Linked DNA regions of Homo sapiens: all the other regions are linked to region 6. The links are contacts of gene promoters, found by promoter capture Hi-C in blood cells and fetal thymus (Javierre and others, 2016). All regions are on one chromosome and are shown on one strand. The core of a region is centred on a gene start or on the middle of the fragment in contact, and the rest is flanking DNA. Distances in the headings are between cores, read along the strand shown.

What was found. The method cuts DNA at HindIII sites, captures the fragments that hold promoters and counts their contacts. A CHiCAGO score of 5 or more calls a contact.
Region 1: a contact is called between a fragment that was not itself captured here and the fragment with the promoter of DDC in region 6, in 8 of 17 cell types (endothelial precursors, erythroblasts, megakaryocytes and 5 more). The highest score is 13.0, in endothelial precursors.
Region 2: a contact is called between a fragment that was not itself captured here and the fragment with the promoter of DDC in region 6, in 3 of 17 cell types (endothelial precursors, erythroblasts and megakaryocytes). The highest score is 7.0, in endothelial precursors.
Region 3: a fragment that was not itself captured here is called in contact with the fragment with the promoter of DDC in region 6 in 2 of 17 cell types (M0 macrophages and endothelial precursors); the score reaches 5.5 in M0 macrophages.
Region 4: a contact is called between a fragment that was not itself captured here and the fragment with the promoter of DDC in region 6, in 1 of 17 cell types (erythroblasts). The highest score is 6.1, in erythroblasts.
Region 5: a fragment that was not itself captured here is called in contact with the fragment with the promoter of DDC in region 6 in 1 of 17 cell types (fetal thymus); the score reaches 6.1 in fetal thymus.
Region 7: a contact is called between a fragment that was not itself captured here and the fragment with the promoter of DDC in region 6, in 4 of 17 cell types (activated CD4 T cells, naive CD4 T cells, fetal thymus and 1 more). The highest score is 8.4, in activated CD4 T cells.

The regions. Positions count from the first base shown.
Region 1 is chr7:51,156,339-51,159,827 of GRCh38, forward strand. All of the region lies in intron 5 of COBL (cordon-bleu WH2 repeat protein), which reads right to left. Among named protein-coding and RNA genes, the nearest start is that of COBL, 160 kb to the right of the region's middle. The HindIII fragment of the contact is 3,798 bases long and covers 1-3,476 here.
Region 2 is chr7:51,137,153-51,140,369 of GRCh38, forward strand. The region is part of intron 5 of COBL (cordon-bleu WH2 repeat protein); the gene reads right to left. Among named protein-coding and RNA genes, the nearest start is that of COBL, 180 kb to the right of the region's middle. The HindIII fragment of the contact is 2,121 bases long and covers 706-2,826 here.
Region 3 is chr7:51,224,890-51,228,571 of GRCh38, forward strand. All of the region lies in intron 1 of COBL (cordon-bleu WH2 repeat protein), which reads right to left. Among named protein-coding and RNA genes, the nearest start is that of COBL, 90 kb to the right of the region's middle. RefSeq lists enhancers at 1-290, 291-999, 1,164-2,363. The HindIII fragment of the contact is 2,284 bases long and covers 664-2,947 here.
Region 4 is chr7:51,115,173-51,118,872 of GRCh38, forward strand. The region is part of intron 6 of COBL (cordon-bleu WH2 repeat protein); the gene reads right to left. Among named protein-coding and RNA genes, the nearest start is that of COBL, 200 kb to the right of the region's middle. The HindIII fragment of the contact is 8,014 bases long and covers 1-3,700 here.
Region 5 is chr7:51,178,245-51,181,444 of GRCh38, forward strand. All of the region lies in intron 5 of COBL (cordon-bleu WH2 repeat protein), which reads right to left. Among named protein-coding and RNA genes, the nearest start is that of COBL, 140 kb to the right of the region's middle. The HindIII fragment of the contact is 6,245 bases long and covers 1-3,200 here.
Region 6 is chr7:50,564,155-50,567,531 of GRCh38, forward strand. It overlaps DDC (dopa decarboxylase), which reads right to left and starts at 1,251. Exons shown (of 15, transcript NM_001082971.2): 1 at 1,131-1,251. The HindIII fragment of the contact is 1,002 bases long and covers 416-1,417 here.
Region 7 is chr7:50,031,697-50,035,423 of GRCh38, forward strand. All of the region lies in intron 4 of ZPBP (zona pellucida binding protein), which reads right to left. Among named protein-coding and RNA genes, the nearest start is that of ZPBP, 60 kb to the right of the region's middle. The HindIII fragment of the contact is 1,608 bases long and covers 1,403-3,010 here.

The sequences.
Region 1 (3,489 bases), core at 328-2,827, 590 kb after region 6:
AAATTATCTCAGTTTGAAGCTCAGAGCCAATACTTCCGAAATGTCCCTTTCTGAAAGCTCACCGAAGTGTCTCTTCTGAAGGAGACATCAGGTTCCCCAGGAATCACCCAGCAGGAAGCATCACCCAGAATTATTCAGTTTTATTGGAGGCTGTCATTCAAAGGAGTTACGCTCACCATATAATTACAGATCCAGAATATATCATCTCGGATGGCAAACATTCTTAGCCAAGCAAATAAAAGAATTCTCTGATCCTTCTCACCCCACATGGAGGGTCAAATATTGAGAAATAGCTAGTCATTTGTTCAGGCTATTTTTAAACACACATTTCCAATGTACAGTCAATAAAAAACCACCCTTCACACACACACACACACACACACACACACACACACACACACACAATGAACTGTAGTTAAGGTGCACTTTCAAATCACTAAATGGAACTGCTGAAGAATGGGAACTTTCATTTCTTAACCCTTCTCCTTCCTCTCCCCCTTAAACTGTTCTGTACTTAAAATAGAAACACAGGTGCCCCTAAGCTGGATTCCCCTCTCAGAGAGGGAGCCACACAGCTGCATCCGCAGCTTAGCTGAGGCTTTGCCTTCTCTGTACAGACCTTCCTTCGCCCTTCTCACAAGGAGAACCGAGCCCTCTGACTCTACCTCCTCGCCAGGGCCTCAGGCTTGATTCTCCTATTGCCTCATCTGCCCCAATACCTCAAATCAGAGTTTTAACAAGGCCAGGGCTAGCCAGACACGGTGGCTCACGCCTGTAATCCTAGCGCTTTGAAAGGCCGAGGCAGGCGGATCACTTAAGGTCAGGAGTTCAAAACCAGCCTGGCCAACATGGTGAAACCCCATCTCTACTAAAAATACAAAAAAATTAGCCAGGCGTGGTGGTGTGGGCCTGTAATCCCAGCTACCTGGGAGGCTGAGGCAGGAGAACTGCTTAAACCCAGGAGGCAGAGGTTGCAGTGAGTCAAGATCATGCCACTGCACTCCAGCCTGGGCAACACAGCAAGACTCCGCCTCAAAAAAAATAAACAAGGCCCCTGGCAATGCCAGAGAATTTGGAGTTTCAGTAGCACCGGCAAGGGGTTCCTTGGTGTCTTCTGAGGGCAGGGGGTTGGCCTGGCTCCTCTGTGTGTCTCCAGTGCCCCCTGGTCTGCTGATGGGACAGACTCAAAGTGTGCCCAGGGCAAGTGGTTGGAGAGGCGAGTGTCTATGTGGGGAGGGATTTTAGTGGAGGCACTCTGCTCTCTTCTCCCTTTTCTTTTCTCCTTCTTTCTTTCCTTATTTTTTCCCCCTCAATATTCATTGTTCTTATTCTCTAAGTCAAAATTCAGACTTTGGAAAATAAATAATCACTTCAGGAAGTCTATTTATTGTACTATATGGTGACTATAACTACTAAGAATGTATTATATACTTGAAAATTACTAAAACGGTAGACTTTAAATGTTACCACAAAAATATAAGTATGTGAGGTCATGGATATGGTAATTAGCTTGATTTAGCTGTTGCACAATGCACTGATATATAATTTTTATTTGTCAATTGAAATAAACAAAATACAGACAATCATCACACACATTGTTAAAACATACAAAATATGCTCTGTGTTGTTAATGGACAGACAGCCTTTCACTATACTTCTTAAAATATAAAACTTTTAAAAGGGTTGCTGCCCCTGGGGAAGGAAGAAGAGAGCCAGTTGTTGTGTTAGAGAGGCAGTGTCATCTGTGTCTGCTGTGTTTCTTAGTCGTTAACAAAAAGACAATGCAGCAAATGTAGCTAAACACACATTAACATTTGTTAATGGTGGATGATTGATATGGGACTGTTTATTTATTATTCTTTTTATTTTACTATTTCTATGTATTTTCTATTTGTTTATTTTATTTATTTTACTCTGTAATCTACTATGAATTGGTACCATGCAAAATTTCAAAAAGGAGAAGAGACCCTCAAGGTGCAGTTTATGTTGAAAGAATGGAGAAGAATGGACCCAAACCTACCGGATGGCGGAAGGGCAGGGTCGGGGAGGAGCCTCCTCACTCACACGCGTCCACAGCCTGTAACCATCGCTCAACAGGAAGAAAAGGGAAGGACTATAGGTCCGCCTGGGACATATTTAAGATGCAGAAATCAAGAAAATGTGACAACCCTGGAAGAGGAAGCAAAGGTGGTGCTAGCTGAGGAGACAACAAGGGAGCAGTGGGGATTTAAGAAGATCCCAGTCTCCAGGGTAGAGGACGCATCCCTAGGGGCCCAGACCCTGGGGCAGGTGCCACTAGGAACAGAGCACGGTGGGAGGCTGGGAAAGTGTCCGCCCCTGCCCTTTTCCAGGGAGGAGCTGGAAAAGAATGCAGGCAAAAGTCGGGGAGGAAACACTCATTCCTAATGAAATGAAATCTGTAACATCAAATAAAAACAGGAGATGAGCGCGATGCTGGGACAAGCACACTGGCCTGAGCCAGGGGTGTCCATAGGGCGGGGGACAGGGAAAGCGAGGCACGGGGTGGGAGACAGGGAAGGCGTGGGGGACAGGGAAGGCACAGCGCCGGGGACAGGGAAGGCACAGCGCGGGGGTGCAGGGGCTGTGTGGGCAGGGAGGCGAGCTGAGAAACAGCAGCCCCAAGGGCCGACCCTGGGACTGCCAGTGTGTGGGACACCCTGTCTATAGTCCACTTCCTTTTTTTAAGAACCTGGATCAAGACACACGAAGAGCTGGCCAGGAGCTTGGAGGAGGGCAGCGGGGGCGGCGTTGCAGGCTCTCTGCAGCCCCCGGCCGCGCGCACCTGGCGGCCGCGCGCGCTGCGCTCTGGATGCCGCGTGAAACCGCAGGGCGCAAAGCAGGGAGGTGGGGAGGAGGCTTTGGAGACCACAGGTGCTGGGAAGTGGAGCCGCCAGGAGGCCTGGGCCAGGTGACAAGGCCAGGCTGTGTGAAGTGGTGAGATCCTAGATGTATCTTGAAGGCGACAGACGCTATGAGGGTTGCAGGTGGAGTGGGAGAGCAAAGGGGGCAAAGAGGACCCCAGGGTTCTGGCCCGAGGCACTGTGATGGCGGAGATGTCATCTCCTAGACAGGAAAGGATACCGAGGGACAGAGAGCTCTGCTTCTCACCTTCTCTGGTCTCTGAAGCAACTTAAATCCATGTGCAGGCAAGTGAGATTCTTGTTTTATACTTGTCTGACAAAGAGCAGGGGAAGGCCAGAAAGGAAACATAGACAGTGGAAATAATAGTCATGTTTTAGGGGAACATACGGAAAACCAGTATTTGAAAGGGACGTTTTCTACCTCAGTATCCTTACAAACATCACATTTTCAGCCAAGTGGTGAAAAATCTACATTTATTTTTTTCCCTCCGAGAACTGGTACTGGCATTAGGCCCTGTTTATCAACTCTTCAGGATCTATGTGTATACTACTCCCATTGTAAGAATCGAACACTCTGGGAAAAAAATTCATCAAAGCTTTAAAACCA
Region 2 (3,217 bases), core at 516-3,015, 570 kb after region 6:
GGCAGATCTTCCACCTGTTACCATGGACACAGTCAACACTGAGAGCCAATGCAGTATAGGGGTTAAGCCCACAGACCTTGGAGACACTACCTGGGTTTGATTCCTTCTTTTGACCTTAGACGAGGTATTTTTTGGTGTCAGGAGTAAGATACAAACCTTGGGCAAATTTTTAATTTCTCCCTACCCCAGTTTATCTCCTGTAAAACTGGGGTAAATAATAGTTCCTGCATTACAAAGCTATCATGTGAATCAAATGAGTGACTGGATGTAAAAGAGCTTGAAAGAGTTCTTGGCACATTGGCTGGGTGTGGTCATGCTCACCTTTAGTGCTAGCTACTTGGGATGCTAAGGTGGGAGGATCTCTTGAGCCTGAGTTTGAGGCTGTAGTGAGCCATGCTGGTGTCATTGGAAGACAGAGTGAGATCCCACTTCTTTAAAAAAAAAAAAAGGAGTTCTTGGCACAAAGTAAGTACCCAATATGTGTTAGCTATTATGATTATTACACTTGCTTGTTTGTATCTTTGTCTCCCATTAAGATGTGAACTCAATGAAGACAGTAATTATCACTGATTTTTACTGAGAACTGTATGTAATCCCAGCTCCAAACAGTTCCTGGTAGGTGGAGGGCCCTTCAGTCAACCTTCCTGAGACAATGAATAGACAGATGACCCTCTGGGTCACTATGCTTTCATATTTTACATAATAAGCTTGTGGGTAAGATTTCATTTGAACAACTAGTTCTCCATATTTAAAATGAAGATATAAAGGAAATCCATCATATTAAACAATAGCCCAGTATTATTTGTGCTCAGACACAAATGCTGTTGCTCTACCAGTTATACTATCATTTGTTTTCCTGAAAAAAAATTGAGTCACAGATTTTCTTGTGCTTAAATATTAAAGCCAAAGGACAAAGCACTCCATGAAGGCTGCTTTTTACGCCATTAGTGCTTCCCTGCAGACACTGAATATCAACGATGCCCGATGCTTTGGCTATCAGGTGCAGAGTTCCCATAGGAAACAGGTGACGGTGATATAACAGAAAAGAAACTAACACCCAGAACACTCGTCAATGCCTATTTAGGCTCCTACAGAAAAATGTAAATTGTTCCCTTGAGTCCTTGAGTTCTGCAGCCATCATAGTCATTACTAAGCAAATAAGCCATGCAAAATAAACTCTGCCTTACATCCACCTCCATGGCAACAGGGAGGACTCAGGGAGATGCAACTCAAGATTTATTTAACCCTGCAGGATCTAGAAGACTAAATGAAGCACAGGAAGCAAACCAGAGAAGGGATTTTGCTATTCACAGTTCTGGAGCTGGAAAGGTGTTTTGCTGGATGGCTGGTTTGTACAAACACCCCCAGATCCAGGGGGAATGCAAACCCCATCTTTCCTCATCAGTAGTCACTTAGCATATGGCCAGAGCATGGACACTGGGACCTTCCACACTGTTCTGTTTCCTCATCCATAACGTCTGCTGACAGTGACTGCACATGCACACACTCACGCACATGTGCACACACTCACAAACGTGCACTCACACATGTGAACACACATTTTGGAGGATGCTTAAAGCTGTGGTAGTCAAAGAACTACACACCTGTACCCATGCCACCTGCTATCTCTAAAGCACACATGCCCCATCTGACGTCCCAGAAACACGATGTCCATGGCAGTGCATTCCACAACCACATATCTAATTGCTTGTCTTCATTCCACCCTGTCTAGACATGGAACTCCCAGTTCCTCTTGTCCTCGGTCCTCACCACAACTATGCCTGCCTGACTGATCAATCAATACTGCTGTGAATCCACCTCTGTCCTGTAAGTGCCCTGAGCACTTAAGGAAGGTCTGTGCAGAATACTCCCTTAAAAGAACTTTACAGCCCCCTTCCATTTCATATTGATTTCAGGTTTTAATTCATAATTTTTTTTGCTGTCATAAGCATCCTGGACATTTTGCATTATCTATTTTTTAAGGTAAGGAATGGGAATAGACCCCATAAAGTAGGTACATCCCCATCTTTAAAATGGGGAAAAATCCATTTCCTTCAAAGTTGTTACAAGCATTAAATGAAGTAATTTAGATAAAGCACATTAGAAGTGTCTAATATATGTGGTTTCCTTCTTCTCTGATACCTATTTTGGGTGGCCATGACCTCATGAGGGCCACACTGAGATGACCTTGAATGGCAGAAAGTCAGAAGGCGGAAGTGCACCCCATCCCAGTCCTCCTAGAAGTTCTGATATTGATTATCTTCAGACAATGGGCTCCTCATGAGGCCTTCATCTGTGACTCTGGAACTTAACTGAATTTCAATAGAACAGATGATTTTTCTCCCCTAATTTGCTCTACACAATTAACAAATATCTCTTCCCACCTCCCACAATGCTCCCAAGGAGGTCGATTGCAGGGTCCAGTGGTCCTGAGCCACCAGACCCTCTTCTCAGTTCTGCTACTCAACAGTGTTTCTCAACCTTCAACCCATGGGAAGCCAAAAACTTTATGTTGTCCAGCGAATACTTGTGCTTCATTTCTATCTTCTTTCCCTACTTTTGGAATTTGTGCGCAGAATTTAGAAAGCAATCCACAGAATAATGTGGGAGGAAAACATTGTGAAGTATTGAGTCCTTTAAAGTCCTGACTCATATCAATACGAAGTCAAAGGGAAAACCAAGAGCTTAATGCATGCAGTCTGGAGTCAAAACAGCTTGGCCCCCCCTATTATCCCAGTTTCCTTGGTTGTCTCCTGCTACAAAGTGGCAAAGTTCATGAGGGACAGGCCACTGCTTGCCTGCAAGAGAGGTTTGATTTCCTGTCCAAGCTTGTCAATATATACATGTTTTTAATATCAAGTTCTTTTTTTGTAGGGAAGTGAGTCATAGCTCTCACCAAAGGTTGGCACCAAAATCCACAGATGTTGGCAGTCATGATCTTATCAAATTTTCTCAGGAGTTGCAAGTGCAACCAGATAAATCATTAAGAAAAAGCAATGAATAACAGAAAAGAAAACTAAGCAAACAGAACCTTCTATCTCAGGCTTCATGGGACTTAGGTTGGTGGGATTTAAACTTCCTCCAGGCCAGCTGCTGTCATTCAATGGATAGTCGAATTCAATGGCGCCCACCAAAGACAATGCAAAACTCTCTGTGTCCATGTCACCACACCACTGATAGCCAATTAACTCCTTACATTCAGTGTAAAACATCAGTG
Region 3 (3,682 bases), core at 556-3,055, 660 kb after region 6:
GACCTCAGGTGATCCGCCTGCATGTGGGTGACCTGTGCGTGTGGGCGGCCCGTGCATGCGGGGGCGGCCCGTGCATGTGGGCAGGCTGTGAGTGTGGGTGGACTGTGTGTGTGGGTGGACTGTGTGTGTGGATGGCCTGTGCACGTGGATGGCCTGCACAGGTTTAGACCAGGCTTGTTCCCCATTGTCTGTTTCGTGCTTTCAGTGTGGCTTCTGTTAAACGCAGGCACCATCCTGCAGCTAACACAGTCACAGCACAAAACAGAAAACGCCTGGCTTCCTCTGCCTGTGAGTGGCTCAGCCTGGGAAAGAATGGCTGCTATTTACGTGGGGACTCCACATCTGTACTCGGTTGTGAAAAGTCATTAGCTTACCAAGCAGGGGATGCCTTTCTCAAACATCTGTGCAGATGTCATGTGGTTGAGTCTGAGACTCAGATGCATGTGGCAGTTTAAAAAGAGTAGGCCTTCTGCACAAGTCTAAAGAGGCCATCAGACCTGGGACCTTGCCCGGCTCCTGCTGGGCACACCCATCGCAGGTGCTCCCGGCTGGCAGTGCACACAGGCTGGGTAATCCAGCTTTCCTTCCTCTCACCCCCTCCAGTAGGAGGCAGGGCAGGTCCTTGGGACTCAGCAGGGAATGAATCACAGCACACACAACTCAAGCTTCCTTTGATCTATTCAGGTTGAAAAACCTGGGTGTGCCCTGGCAGGAACTGTTTATAAAATGAAAAAGTATATATATGAAAACATTTCTGCCATTTCCAAGGTCATCAACCATAGCTCTAAATGATTTTAGCTTAAAACCATCACACATTTACTAAGTTTCAGGATGACGCTTGTTAATTCCCACATCAGCTGGAAGCTCCCAGCTGGGTTTTTATTCTGAGAGCTCTTCAACATTCAGCAGAAGGCTTGAAATCCACTCACTGAAAGTCAGAGGGTCTTAGGTGACATGGTGCAGTGAATGCAAATCGCAGGTGTGAGGCCCAGGTAGCTGAATTAAAACCTAACTCTATAGGTGACAGCCACTGCCCAGCCAGGCTGGTCAGGCTGAGGTAGACAGGGACTGCATGCTGAAAAGGGAAAATTCATGCGTCTCTGTACTTTCCCAGACCCTGAGTTCAAAAGCACTATGCTTTACATCTTCCATCTTTCCAGTTGGAAATGTCATCTGTGGACCTGAAGGTATAACAATTTCTTACTGTCCAAGAAAAGTGGACTGGGAAATCCACAGTGATGCTGAGGCCAGCTGACCTGAATGGCACCTCTACACCATGGGTGCCTGTTTACCATGTTGGCTACTCTGGCTGGCTGCTGGCAAACCGCATGTGCTTAAAGGGAATTTCAGAGAGAAACCAGGCACACCCGGCTCTCCTGGCTAAGAGAGTCTGTTTATGCTGCAGGCAGAAGGGAGTTGCCATTCTCTCTCCATGAGATTCTTCAGCAATAGGATGTTTGCTTCATCCTGTTTACAAGCGGTACATAAGCTGCGTCTGGTTTGTGTCTGGCTATTTATTTGCAGCCACAGTTGTAGACTTCCCTCTACCAAGGGAAGAGGAACCATGACTTTCTTGTTCATCACTGGTAAGTGAAGTGCTGGGCCCAGGGAAGGAATTCGGTCACCACTGCGTTGAGTGAGTGAGTGAGTGAGTGAGTAAGTGAGTGACTAAGTGAGTGAGTAAGTGAGTGAGTGAGGGAGTGAGTTGGGATTCAGCTGCCAAGTCAGTGCCCAGTTTTCTCAGCAATAATAAAAAGTCAGAAAGATGTCCAGAAACAAATGCCCAGAAGACAGCTGAGTGCTACCGCAGCCTGCAGAACTGGTTACCAAAGAGGGGAATGAGGAATCCTCGCATCCTGTACCAGCTCCCACATCCCTGAGTCCAACACTAATCTGATTTAAGCCCTCATTTTCTAAACATGCCATGATCCAGCCACCATGCCACACTGTGTATGTTCAATACCCCTGGCAACTTCATATGCAAGTGTATTCTCCCCATTTTACAGACAGGGTGGCTGAGTATCCAACCAGTTAAGTAACCTTCTCACAATCACACAGCTGGAAAAGACTGGAATTCTAGCCCAGGTCTTTCTGAGCCTAGGACACCACCTACACACTTTGCACCGCCTCCAGCCTTAATTACTTCTTGAAAACAAGCACCGGGGTTCCTGGCAGACTGATGCTAGGATGTTTGGACTCCTTGACACATACTAGAACGCTGGTGCCCTGCAGTGCCGGCTGATGAGCGGTGAGGTTAGAGAATACTCTTCAGTGAAGGTTTCCAGCACACAGTTGTAGAGACGCCCCCTTTACTCTGATGTGGGGTCTGGACAAGCCTTATTTGCAAACTGAGTTGGGCCTCCAAGAACTTCCTTCAGTGCTCAAGGTTCCACGAGGCTCAGATGGACGCATGGGGACTGTGTTCAACTGCCTCAGGAGACAGAGGAAGACTGGAGTCACAGGGAGATGGAAGGACGTGCCCCGGCATGACATGAGGTAGGTGGCAGAGCTGGAACAGACCCCAGATTAGTCTCAAGCATCCCTGAATACACCTTTAGGGTCAGGTACTTCTTTGAGTATCTGATGAAGGCCATGGACCTTCTTCCAGGCAAGATGCACTCCAGCCTGCTTGCCACCAGCCAGGAGCACCTGCTATGGGTGTGCCCAGCAGGAGCTAGAAAAGATCCCAGCTCTGATGACTTCCTTAGACTTGTGCAGAGACCCTGCTCTTTTTAAACTGCCACATGCCCCTGAGTCTCAGACTCCTAAGCCTCTTCCTTGTACATTATTTCTGCAAACCACCCTGATGACCAGGGACTCCAGATTAAGAATCCATGTAATACCTTTTCTTGGAGCTCAGCACCTCCCAAGCTCAGGGCAATGTTCCTGTGAAGACAAGAATTCCTTCTAATAGAGGAGAAGAGCTATCAGAGGAAAATCCCATCAAAGCTTTCCCCACTGTCTTGGCCCCTGCAAACAAAACGGAAAGCCAGAAAAACAGTCAACAGAAGATCCAGATAAGTAAGGGCTGAAATATGTGTCTATGAAACAATCACACTGCAGCCCACAGAATTGTGGCATAAAAACAATAAATATCACACTGGAGCAATAAGCCAGGGAGAAACGACTTTACCCATCAAAACGCCACATTTCAGGGCACACAAAGGCACTGTCTGTTGAAAGTCTGCCCCAGGACACTCCACAGCTGTACACCATCCACCACATCCTGGTTACATGCTCTAGAGCTGGAAAAACATCAGGTCAAATCCAGCCACGACGTGGCCACGCTGTGCATCTCCCCCAGATAAGCTCCTGTAATCTGTAGGCCTCAGTTTCCCCAAGAGCTGAACAGAGAGAGATTTCAGCTTTTATCAGCTGAGTAAATGGGAGGATTAAATGAGATGACCCCTGTAAAGTTTCTGGTATGGCACCGAGACACAGGTAGCACTCAATGACTGGTGGTAATTACAAATTTTTTTACTATTATTATTAGCACGCTTACTCTTTTGGATTAAAAAAAAAAGAAGCAGGCCTCTTGTCTCTGCGAGGGTAGAGTAGAAGCTGGCTCCTCAAAATGCCTAATAAAAGCTCATTTATGCAGCAAATGCATTCATAACTGCCTAAGAAATCCTACACAATAGAATTTCACAGTTTTGACCTGGGGGTGGGGGAAGCTTTCAGT
Region 4 (3,700 bases), core at 1,078-3,577, 550 kb after region 6:
TTTCCCTGGATCAATCTAGATATGTTGATCATATGGTTGATCATGTGAAAGACAGAAAGAGCTCTGATTTTATGCATTTTCTCTACTACTGCTTTCGATTTCACTGATCTCTGCTTTTATTTTTATTATATCTCTCTTTCTTGGATTTATTTTGTTCTACTTTTTTTTAGCATCTTAAGATGGAATCTTAAGTCTTTGATTCTTAACCTTTAGTTTTTTCTATATGACATTTAAAGTTATAAATTTTCCTCTAAGGACTGCTGTAGCTAGATCCCACAAATTTTAATATATTGTATATTTTTTCCTTCAGTTCAAAATAGTTTCTAATTTCCTTTGTGATTTCTTTTTTGACTTAGATTACTTAAAAGTATGTTGTTTGCCAAATATTTGAGGGTTGTCCTAGACATATTGTTACTGTTGATTTCTAATGTAATACTCCACATGATATAAATCCTTTTAAGTATATTGAGATGTGTTGGTAAACATACCACATTGTACTAGAAAACAATGTGTACTCTGTAGTGGTTGGATATAGTGTTCTATAAATATCATTTATATGGATAGTTGGTAGTGTTGGTCAGATCCTCTATCTCTTCACTCATTTTTTTTGTCTAGTTGTTCTATCTGAGAGATTGTTCTCAGTCATGCTGTTCTCCAATATGATGGTGGATGTGTCTATTTCTCCTAATTTTGTCAAATCTTCATGTATTTTGAAGTTCTGTTATTAGGTACATACACATATATATGAGTATGAAATCTTCCTGATGTATTGATTCTTTAATCATTATGAAATGTCCATCTTAAACTCTAGTAATATGTAAGGCTATTTTACCTGCTACCCATCTAGTCACTCCAGTTTTCTCATGCTTACTGTTTAAATGGTATCCTTTTCTACCCATTCACTTTTAATCAGTATCTGTCTTTTTATTCAAAATAGGTTCTTATAGACAACATTCTTATCCATTCTGACAATCTCTACCTTTTAACTGGAGTGTTTAGTCTGTTAACATTTAATGTAATTATTGATATGGCTGAATTTAGATAAACCAGTTTGTTTCCTGTTGTTGCTCCTGTTTATTGTTTCTCTGTTCTTACTTTACTTTTGGGTTTTAAAAATTTAACCACTGGATTAGTTGTACCTCTTTGCATTATTTGGTTTAATGGTTGTTCCAACAATTATAATATGTGTGCTCAACTTTTACAGTCAAATTAGATTAAGTATTATAACCCTTCACATCAAATGTGGATAACTTACAATCACATAGGTCCATTTACCCAGCCCTTCCATGCTTTATGCTATAGTTGTCTTATGTATTACACTTATAGAGATTATAAACCCCAAAGACAATATTATAATTTTTAAGCAATCACATATATTGGAAGTAATCTTATATATTTTGGAAAGAAATATATCACATATATTGGAAAGAAATTAAGAGAAAAAATAGTTTTTTTATGTTTATCTAGCTATGTACCATTTCTGACACTCTTTATGTCTTTCTAAGAGTCCAAGTTTCCATCTGATATCATTTATCTTCAGCCTGAAGAATTTCTGTTAAGTGTTTCTTTTATGGAGGTCTAATGGCAATTCTTTATATTTTATTTGAAAATGTCTTTATTTTGCCTTATCCTTGAAGGATATTTTTGCTGGGTAGGTAATTCTGAATTACCAGTTGTTTTGTCTCTTCAGCACTTTAAAGATGTCCCATTGTTACCCAGATTCTACTGTTTCTGATGATAAAGTGATTCACTTTCTTTTATATATATATTTTTAATAATACTTTAAGTTCTAGGGTACATGTGCACAACGTGCAGGTTTGTTACATATGTACACATGTGCCATGTTGGTGTGCTACACCCATTAACTCGTCATTTACATTAGGTATATCTCCTAATGCTATCCCTCCCCCCTCCCCCTGCACAAAATATGGCATTTTTCTCTACTTGTGTATAAGATTTTCTCCTTAAGTCTATTTTTAAGTAATTTCATTATAAAGTACCTATGTAGCTATGCACAGTTTTCTTCTTATTTATTTTGATTTGGATTCACCAAACCTCTTTAATTTGTAAATTTTGTCTCACAAAATGTAAAAAACTTTTGGCCCTTGTTTTTTCAAATATTTTTTTCTCTTCTTATTCTGGAGTCAATAGAGTCCCAGAATAAAAAGAAAAAATAAATAAATAGAAAAAATAAATCTTTGGGGATCTACTTTTTTTTCCAAAATTTTTCTCTTCTTCTTGAAACTGGATATTTCAAATTGATTTATTTTCAACTTCACTGCCTTTTTCTTTTGTTACCTTCATTCTGTTGTTGGGCCCATCAGTGAAATTTTTATATTGGCTATTGTGTTCTTCCATTCTAGAATTTCTACTTGGTTCTTATTTATAGTTCTTATTAACCATATGAGATTTTTTCTTTTTTTCATTCATTATGAGCATATTTCCCATTATGTTGTTACCACAGTTACAAGCAGTCGTAAAATTCTTATCTGCTAATTCCAACATCTCAGTCATCTACAGATTGGTTTCTATTGACTATCTTTTTCACATTTTCGAATAGGTCGCATTTTCCTGGTTCTTCATATGTTAAATAATTTTGGCCTGCATCCTGGACATTGTTGAGTGTTATGCTTAGGAGGTTCTAGATTCCCTCATATTCCTCAGGAGACTGTAAATTACTTTGTCTTCACGGGCAATAATAAGCTGACTGGATTCACTTTAAGTCCTGTTTCTTGAGCAGCAATCAAATCTCAGTTCAGCTCTTTAGTTCTTAGCCAGGCTGCTTGGTATCTGTCCTTTTCATGCATGGTTCAAGGCTGAGCCAGAGATTTAGCCAGAATTTATCCACAGAATTTATGGCTGTCCCTCTCTGGCTTTCTCCTTTCTAGTATTCTTTCCTCACTTTCCAGAGGGCGGTGGCTGTCCTGAATTCTGGCCACATAGTTCTGAATTAGGCTAGAACAAATGGGCACCACAAGTTACTTTCCTGAGTTTACATATAATCTATTGACTACTGTATTAATTTTCTGTTGCTGCATATCACATTACCATTAGCTTGGTAGTTTAAACACAAACACACACATTTGTTATCTCAGTTTCCAGCGGTTGGGAGTCCAAGCATGGCTTAGCCGGGTCCTCTGCTCAGGGTCTCACAAGGCTGCAATCAAGGTGTCAGCAGGCTGTGTTTCTATCTGGAGGTTTGATTGGGAAGGCTCAGTGGGGTTGTTGAAAATTGCTTCTCTGGCGGGTTCAAGACTGAGAGACTTGGCCTTTTACTGACTGTTAAGCAGAGACAATCCTCGCATCCTAGGGGCCACCTGCATTTCACAATCTTTTATAATCACAGGGAGTGACATCCCATCATCTTTGCCATATCTTGTAAGTTAGAAGCAAGTTCCAAATTCCAATTCACTCAAGGAGAAGGGCTCATACAAGGATGTGAATCACTGGGGGGGAGAGGGGGAGGGGTGTCACATTAGGGTGTGTTGGTCACGAAGACCAAAAGTATGTTTTACGCTTCTATAATCTGGGGCCCTTGGAGGTTCAATAACTTCCCCAAGGTTGTATAGGTTAGTGTTGGTGGAGTCTGGGATGGATTCAAATCCAGGCAAAGCCTATGTCCTCCAAATATCCCTCCTACATTCAACAAGCAAACTACGCTCTACACTGCTGGAGCAGGCTGGACCCAGCCACAGAGAGG
Region 5 (3,200 bases), core at 230-2,729, 610 kb after region 6:
CTTAAAGGTTATTTAAAAGCTGTTTTAAATTAATGAAATACAAAAATGATAGATAAAACTAAATGGGTATAGGAAGTTAGAAAAAAATGAAAAATATTGCAAAAGGTTATAAAAGATTTATAGAAAACTTATCTGTGTGGTCAAAGCTGAATGAGGTTGGATGGATTTGTTTATAAGGTTTTATTAAAATTAGGTTTATTGGTAATAATACATTAATACAAAGGCAAAACTTGTTTTTCTCTTTTGAACAGGGTTTTCATATAGTATTGATAAAAAATAATAAAAGGTTTTATTTACCTTTTGAATAAGCTGCAATAAAAAAAGAAGAGAGAGGAAGACACACTCACCGTGTCTTTATTAGGTCTGAAAACTGAGTCTCTCTTCTTTTTTTTTGAGACAGTCTCGCTCTGTTGCCCAGGCTGGATATGATCTTGGCTCACTGCAACCTCCGCCCCCTGGGTTCAACCTAGTCTCCTGCCTCAGTTTCCCGAGTAGCTGGGAATACAGGTGCCTGCCACCATGCCCGGCTAATTTTTGTATTTTTAGTAGAGACGGGGTTTCTCCAAGCTGGTCAGGCTGGTCTCCAACTCCCGACCTCAGGCGATCCACCCGCCTTGGCCTCCCAAAGTGCTGGGATTACAGGCATGACCTACTGTGCCCAGCCAAGTCTCCTCTTAATCAAAGAGTAAATGTTTTTGCTTTTTGAAATCTTTGAAAAAAATCACTTTGACTAAATGAATATTATTTTACTGTGATCTCATTTTGAAATCAAGTGTTTCAAGCCTTTGACATTTGACAAACTTCCTAAAATGAAACTTCAAATTCTAATGAGTCTTTCTCACATTGAACTAACTTTTGGAGATTAGGGCTCCTGGAAATCCAAACAGGGACCCTGGAACTCCAAAAGCGGCATATTAGGCATATTTGGTATGTGAAAATCATACTGGAAGCATTGTTAAATAAGAGTGTTTAACTTTCTTTTTTGTTTGTTTGGTTGGTTGGTTTTTTTGGGGACAGAGTCTTGCTCTTTCACCCAGGCTGGAGTGCAGTGGCACAATCTTGGCTCGCTGCAACCTTCGCCTCCCAGGTTCAAGCAATTTTTGTATTTTAGTATTTTGTATTTTTGTATTTAGTACTCCTCAGTAGAGATGGGGTTTCACCATGTTGGCCAGGCTGGTCTCAAACTCCTGACCTCAGGTGATCCACCTGCCTCGGCCTCCCAAAGTGCTGGGAATACAGGTGTGAGCCACCGCGCCCAGCCAAGAGATGGTGCTTAACTTTCTTCAGGTTATTTTTATATGAATATGCTATTAATATGCATTCTATAATTATAAAAGATACCGAAAAATTTGATGTGTCTTGACATAAACAGTAAATTGCTTTATTCTGATGCTCTCTTTTCCTAAAAGTTCTTTGTAAATGCCAAAGCATTGTATCTTCAAGGAACCTTATGAAGAAGATCACAAAAAGCACTCTGAATACAAGTTTCTGATAATTTTGGAGATCATGCCGTTGAACAACGCAAAAAGAAAAAATCCAGTAATCTAATTTCAAACCTGATGAGTTCATAAAGATCGCTAACCCAACTTCAAGCAGAATAAAAGCTAAGTACATGGCACTGAAGTGACAGAGCACTGAAATGATTTTTGTGACTTCTTTTTGTTTGAAACACAGTAGGTTCTTTTCATGTTTTGTTTTCTAGCATCAAGAAAACTTTTCTTTTTGAGCTATTTATAGCTTACAGCAATTGGGTAAAGTACACTATGGTGGGCAAACTGAGACATTTATCTTTCATTCTACCTGATTTCTCCAAAATTCAGAAACTATTTGTATTTTCATTTTATGGCAATATACTTACTTGCATAAGTTCAACAAGGATCTGTTTTCTTTTTTAACAAGACACATTGAAAGCACTGGTTATTTTACAAGGCTTAGACTGGAATGACAGATTTTCAGATATGACCAGACTGGTTTGAAGGGCTGAAGTTGACTTTATAGCCAGTGGACTTAGAAAATGGCTGGCCCGGTTCCTTGTCGACATGGTTCCCTTACAAGGTTGCTGACCTTGCAGTAAGTAAAAGCATGTCACTTTCTGACAGGCCCAGTAATCTCAAGATATTTTGAGATCTCGAGAAGAAAGAAATTCACTGAATTCATACAGGTATTACCGGCACAGTTAGATGGTAAATCCTTAACTTGGCTTCCTAGCCACAAGAGGCTTTTAAAAATCTAATCTGAGATTCCTTAACCAAAAAGTTCCAGCAAAGCCAACTAAAATGAGTCAGTATGGCCACTCTTATTGCTGCATCTTATGCAAATAATCATGCCAAGTATAATAAGTGTAAAACTAATTTTACAAATAAACTGGTTCTACTATGATTTATCTTTGGTAAAACTGGAGGAACTGGAAAAATTATTTTTCAATAACCCACCTGTTATTCAGTTCTAGCAGACTATTGTTTTTGTGATATTATTATTTGCCCACAATTTGGACTGAATCCTGAATTACCTCCTGGCTACAAGTCTCTAAAGAAGAAGCAGGATGTAATGTTCTGCCTGATGTTTTCAGTTGTTCCCTAATGGAATTCAGGTTTGTTTGATCTGGCATATAAATTATCTTTCTGACTATAATCCAATCCTGTGTGCATTACGCTTTTACTGTTCAGATTATTAATACTATATATTGCTTGTGGTTTTATTTCTTCTGAGAAAACTAAAATGGTATTCCAAAGACTAGAGATGATTCAACAAGCAACAGCAGCTAATAAATTTCTGACGTGACTGAGGTTTCATTCTTGCCACTCTGTAATGCCATCCTAATTTGGCTTTGGGGTTCCCTTAAAATTCCTCACTAAAACATCTTTTCTTTCCTCCCTAACATGGGACAGGGCTATCTGAGAATCACCCTTCCCAGTGACAAGGGACCCCTTGACACTCAGCGTTTAATCATCAATGCTTTCAAGAAGAAATATTTTGTATCAAAAGAGGGAAATGAAATAAATACACTTTTTATCCACAGAATGTGAGCTCCTTTTAATTATCAGGCCCAGGGAAGCATTGAAATGCAGTGGTGGTCATGTCCCACACCCGCCTGAGCTAAATAATTAGCTCTTAAAGCCAATTGCTACTTGAGCTGTAACACTGAGTGAATTTTTTGCCAAGTAGCTACAAAATGCCATACACTGGATGCCATAACTCAT
Region 6 (3,377 bases), core at 1-2,500:
TCCCTGGTTTCAAAAATGTCACATATCCACTTTGCCAGGACTTCCAGGGTAGAGTTCTATAGGGTCATCTTCATCCTACACCGCATCCAGATAAGCACAGGGAGCAAGGCTGAATGCTGGAGGGACTTACCCCAGCCATGGGAGCAGCGCTTGTCGCCCTGGACCTACACACTGGATTGCTTGGCTGCCCGACAGCACCAAGTGCAAACGGGCTACATTCACATTTCGTCTCTGCCAGCTGCAAGATCTTATGCCATCCTCCTCCCCTCCTCTGGCTGTTTGCTCACTTGTGAAATGGGGATGTGACTGGAGGTGAAGAAGGCAAACCTTCTAGACAGAGCCCAATGTAAACTGACCACTCAGAAGTAATGGTTTTAACTCACGCATGATGGAGAGCAATGATTTCCATCGATTAAGCTTTGATTCTTATATACTTCCGACAACAGACTTAAAACCAGGAGAACTTCGACTCCTTGAAGTCGATAACCGAACAATTCTCCCAATAGAAATTCCTATCCGCATATGTTTTCAGATGGGAATTGTACTCAGCATGGCAAGTTGGTGGGAAAGATCTTCTAATTCTCCTCAAATCACACTGCATAGGTAGACACCAAATTGACCTCTAAGTAAACTATAACATACACCAAAAGGAGAGAGCCCTGACGGAGCCTCAGATGTTATAAAGGGAAGGGCAGAGTTCACATTTACTAATCACCTCCATAAAATCATGGGATTTAATCCTCACAAGGTAGATACTAAGAAAATCCTCATTTACAGAAGAAACAGAGGCTGGGGGAATAAAATACCCAACACCATCCCTGGTGGTGCATGGAAAAAATAGAATCACATCTGGCCCGCATTTGCTACTGAGCCAGTCATGAAATCATTCCCAGCACCTATCAAACATGTGTCACTGGAGTGACTGTGTGTGCATGGAGAGCCACCAAGTGCACAGCCCCCACTGAACAAAAACCCCTGCCAGCCTGCAGCAGAAGAGAAAGCACCACACAAGCTCCCTCAAGTGAGTTAACCTTTAAGCAAATGTTCAGTAACATGGGGCCAGAGAGTCAAGGTACATGTTGCTGTTTTCCACTACTACAATCTGAGTAGGTATAAAATCAGAGACTTACATGCTGGAAATTCGAATTCCTTACAGGGCTACTCTCCTTGATGGGATTCTCCAACTTTGGGGACTGAAGAGCATGTGGAGAAGCTGCTGAGGCACTCGGCACTGAGACAGTCACTCTTCTTGAAACTCCAAGCCACACGTTTCCCTCTTCTTGCATTTCCAGCCACATGTGCCAGTTAAACATTAATTCCTGATGGTGACAAAGGTCAAGGAAATCTTGAGAAATAGCTCGCCTCTGGGAATCCTGAGAGCACATTCTGAAGAGACTGTTTCATTCCAAATCCTGGAAGCTTGGATCTTTCTTATGTAATTCTACATACATCCCATCTTTTACTAAGCAGCCCTGATTTCAAGTTTGGAGCCCATTAAGTCATCTGATATGTTCCAGCCCTGCACCAGGTGATGCCTGCATTGCACACAGCCTCCTGCCCCTGAAGGCAGCCCCAAAGTAAGCCTGCACTTCCCGGTGCAGCACTCAGCAATATGGGTAAGATTTCCAGGTTCAGATATCAGCAGAACCCAGGAACTCACCTTCCTTCCCCAAACCCATCAAAATCATAGTTGAGATGCATGAAACAATACTCTGAGTGGAATTTGGACAAATTTATAAAAAAACCCCAAAGTCGATAGAATTTTATGAGAGCACAAAGCAGGGCTGAGAAAGCCACATTGAGAAGTTGAGCAGGCACAGCCTGCAGGGATCTTAGGAGCTGGTCTTTCTGGCAGACCCCCAGCAGCTCCAAGCGTGGGGCTCAGTGGGTGTGAAGAGCAGAGTGAGAGTGAGGCTGGCTGCGGGCAGCTCATTAAAGGACTGGAAACAAGGCAGAGAGGGCTGTCACTAGAGCCATTTGTCACAGGCTAGATGCAGGGAAGAGCTCTCCTTGCTCTATCCTAGGGGACTGGAGCAGGCTGGGGCGGGGCACCTAGGGTTCCTATTGTTAGGACTGGAACTGGAGAGAGAAGCAGAGTGACATTGAGGAGTCTCAAAACCTCCACAGGAGCCATTGGAGGAAAGAGGGAAAAGAGAAAGAATGGCAAGTGAGCCCTCCAATGACGCACACCCAAATGCTCCCGCCTGGGGTCTCACAGGAGCTGAGAACCGAAGAAGTGATTGTCCTTGGTAAGGGGAAGAGTGAGGGAAGGGCTCCAAAGAGGGAACAGCCTCTGCAAAGTTACTGAGGATCAAGCTCGGCATCTCCCAGGCCCTGACAGAAGGCCAACTCCTAAGGACCATTCAAAGTAGGGGAGGGGGAGTCTTGCAAGCCACGTTACGTAATTTGTATCCCCCCAACTGTAATAGAAGGCATTGAAGTGTTTCTAGAAAGCAGTAACCTTAGCTTACTTATGGTTTAAGATCACTCTGGCTCTGGGGTAGAAAATGGATCAGAGGGAGATAAGGGTGAAAGGGTTAGACCCTTTAAGTTGGACCACCAATTCCCACCACATTCCTTGGATTTCTGCACTTTCCTGCAAACCAGGAGTGAATTCAAGTGAATCCATTCTAGGAGATGGGCTGGGGGAGGGAGGGGGGGCTTGAGATGAAGAAGCGTGCTAATATTCCCCATAAGTGCGTGTGTGTGTGTGCATGTTAGGAGGTTGCTGGACAAGGGGAGGAGTCAAGGGGATGGAACGACTACCCAGTGATGAAGCCAGTGGGCAGGGGATGACGGTCATAGACTGAGAGGAAGAAGACTGGGGTGGACCAGTATTGGGTGTGGGGAGGTGAAGGACACCAAGGATTCAGTTTGGGAATTAAATTTCAGATATCCACAAATCGTGTGATTTGAGATGTCCAGTACAGCTCAGAAAAAGAGGCCCAGACAGGAAATAAAGTTATGGGTTGAAAGTGTTTAGATGATATTTGAAGCAATAGGACTGGAAAAAAAACATCCATAGAGAAGAGAGACCTCAGTTTTGAAATCCTCAAAAAAGTGAACTAGTAGTGTCCAACTACTGAGCAACAGTTATCTCTCAATAGAGAAATCTACATAGGAATCAGCATCCGTTCCCAGAAGGGACTCTTTTTACATTTCCTTTCTTCTTGCAGGTGTGGGATTTATGGGGAATAGGGGTGAGGCTTCGAGGACCAAAGAAAGAAATCTAGGGCAGGATTTCCCAACCATGGCACTTTATCAGTCAGGTTTCTCCAGAAAACTGGAAATAATAGGATATGGATATAGGAATATAAGAAGAGATTTATTGTAGAAATTGGCTCATGTGATTATGGAGGCTGGGAAGTCCCACAGTC
Region 7 (3,727 bases), core at 957-3,456, 530 kb before region 6:
CTTCTCTAAGTTTAAATATTTATCTTGGAAGAAATTAAAGTCATATAATTATGAACAATATTCAAAAATATATGTTTCTAATAAATACACAATTAGTTTTATTGAGTTGAGTACAACATCTGGAACTGAGAACACACACACACACACATATATATATATATTTTGCCCATCCCAAATTCTCACTGAAATGACACAAGAAAAATAAAAATGAAAAGAAATTCACTACAATACCAAAAGTCAGAAAAGTTCATCTTCCAAAACAGGGCGCTCTGTTGCTACTTCTGTCAAACAAGGGAGACTTCCCTGCCTGTTCCTGGATTACGCTCAGGAAAAGCTTCCTGCACACACTGAAGTGCACCCAGCCATTGTTTACTTTCTTACCTACACATTTAAGCTAAAATTAAGTACACATACTTAGCTACTGTCCATCTTTGTATTTGGAGTAGAGACCAGACAGCTTCTAATTGCTGAGGAAACCTCTATAGGTTTCATTTCTGAACAGGAATTCTAACATGCTTTTTGTACTGATTCATCCATCAGCGTAGGTACACATTTATCATGTATATATTACATATATCATGATTTATAATATCAAAGATATGTAATATATACAAATATCACATAGAATAACTGAACCTGAGGGGTCAGAGCTGGAACTATAGTTGAGTCACAGTATGACTGGGGACAGGGAAAGAAAACTTTTTCTCTCCAGAAATCTGACTCATATCAAGGTATTACCTGAAATAGAATTAAGTCTGAATTTAAGTCAAAATATCCCCCAAATTCTCTGAAACACTGTATCAAAAGTATACTCTTCTGAGTGTCCAGCAGAAGTACACACAAACCAGCAACAATTCAGGATCAGCTTATGTGCCTAAAAGAGTTAACGTTGCAGGTGGGAGGCTGCTTGCAGGATTAGCCCTTGGCTGGTAAACACCTCCCTACACAGTCAGGAATCTTTTTCTTCATGATAAAACTGTCTTCTTAACCGATGCACTGAACATCTTTTTGCCTTCTGGGAGTCTGAGATTGTTGTAGTTGGTAGGCAAAAGTGCCTACAGAACTGGTCCCTAATAAACATTCTGGATGTGTTACTGTTTATTCTGTTGCTTTTGTTTTTTCTTCAAAATCTCTCGCAAATCCTAAAGTATCTTCAAGATGATTCATGGAATAGACTTTAAATACACTTAAGTACAGATTTCTGACATCACTGAGATAATACAATTAGACTGGGTAAGAATTTGAGTAACTCCAATTTTAAAAACTGGACTCATAAAATTGCTAATCTAACATGAAGCAGAAAAAGAATTATGTGGGACTGAACTGATGTAGGACTAAAATTATTTTTATCACTTTTTGTTGAAAACATTGCTGATTACTTTTTTTTTTCCAGAGTCAAGAAAGCTTTTTTTTTAGCTACTTATAGTTTGCAGGAGTTGGGTAAAGCATATTTTTGAAAGCAAAATCAAAACATTTGCCTTTCTCTCTGATTTCTTCTGAATTGAGAAACTAACCATAAATATTTTTAATTTATGGCAATATAGTTATTTGCATAACATTAATAAGAATCTGTTTCCTTTCATAATAAGACACAGTTGAAAACACATATTACAAAGGCTTTGATTGCGATGTCACATTTTCAGGTATGACCAGGCTGCTTTAAGGAACTAAAGGTTAACTAGGATCCAATTAATCCCTTGGAAAAACTGCCCAAGTACCCTGTCTACATGGTTCTTTACAGGGTTACTAGCCTTGTGGTAAGTAAAAAAATATCAGTTTCTGAGAGGCATAGCATACTCTAAATATTTTGGGGACTTCAAGAAAAGAATTCACTCAAGTACTACAGGTAAAATCTGAGGGTGAGTCCATAGCTTGACTTCCTAAACTGGAGAGGATTTTAAAAGTCTTTTCCTTATGACAAGTTCCAGCAAAGCCAACTTTAAAAGAGTCTATAATAACGTCAATAATTATTCTTTCTACAGTTTATTTATTTATTTATTTATTTATTTATTTAGAGATGGAGTTTAGCTCTGTTGCCCAGGCTGGAGTGCAGCAGCACAATCTCTGCTCACTGCAGCCTCTGCCTCCCAAGTTCAAGTGATTCTCCCGCCTCAGCCTCCCAAGTAGCTGGGATTACAGGTGTGCACCACCATACCCGGCTAATTTTTGTATTTTTAGTAGAGATGGGGTTTCACTATGTTGGCTAGTCTGGTCTCGAACTCCTGACCTCAGGTGATCCACTTGCCTCGGCCTCCCAAAGTGCTGGGATTACAGGTGTAAGCCACTGTGCCCGGCCTTGCTACAGTTTATATAACTAATCAAGCCAACTATAATGAGGCTAAAACTTCCTTAACAACAAAACTGGACTCACTGTGATCTTTGGTAGAAATAGGTGACCAGAGAGAGAAAAATTATGTTTCAAGAAAAATTTAAAAACTATAGTGTGCCTGTTATTAGATTCTAGCTTTGTCCATTTGTTTTTGAGGGTTTTTTTTTTTTAATTATCTAGGCTGAGTCTTGAATTTTTAGTTTCTTCCAATATCTGACTATGACTCTGCAGACTAAAATTTCCAATATTTCTCCCACTCACTCATCTGACTTGAAATCCCTAGACATCAAAACTGCTTTTCCTAAAGCCCCCTGCAAGTTAATGCTAGACAACCTGATACAAACTTTGGAGAAATCACTACAACAACTTATGTATGTACAGAAAGTTCAGTGGAACACCTGATTCAAACTACAATCTGGGAAAATCTATCAAATTGCCACTCCCTGCCCATCCCAACTGAAATGTTTTGAGTCAAAATCTAAAATATTCTCAGCTGACTGCCCTCCAAACTCAAAGACTAGTTTGCAGACTGCTCCAGATGTTAACTTTTGTTTTTCTGTGTTTTCCATAAAAATGATTCCAACTAAATACCAGTGTGCCTATACCATATAGAAACCAAATTTGAAAAAAAAAACTCACCTCTAACACCATCTCCTGAAATCAGGCTCACCTGTTCAACTAAGCTTATTATTCTCAGGACTAAGAGATTCATTCAATAAGATATGGAATCCAAATTTGTTCCTTTCTACTTGTTTCAATCTGTTTCTCACCCTTTGCCAGGTTAGAACCTCTAATCCAAATCTCCCCAAAGCTACCAACTTGGAATTTAATATGTAAAACTTTCTAAAACTAAAGCTGTAAAAGGGGGACTGAAGAAAAACAAAATATTTCTTCCCCAAATATTGAGGATTGTAAGGTTAAAGACGCTGAAAATGGAGGGGACCATTCTGCCTTAGCCTCTATTTGCCCGATGGCAGGACACCAATCCTTCCTTACTGGAGACAACACTTGCTAATCTGTCCAGAGAAAGCACCAGCAGGCACCAAAGGAATCTGGGAACAGATTTTACTATCATCCCACATTTTCTAATCTTTTAGAAGACTGGAACTGCTCTCTCCTATGTTTTGTCACTAAATTGGATTTGTGGCTCTTTGTTAAAATATTATGTAAGCAAGGCCCCTAAGCCACCAATCGGAGATACTTTTGATTTGAGGCCTCTCCAGCATGATAGGTACAGCACACGCATAAACTTCTGCCACTTTCTCCCTTGTTAACCTGGCTTTTGTTTTCAGCAGTGTCTCAACTAAGAAGTTATTCAATTGCCAGCACAGTTCAAGGCCACTGCCTTGCTTTCTACTAAATAGGTGACAGTAATTCACCCACCATAAGTGCAAATAT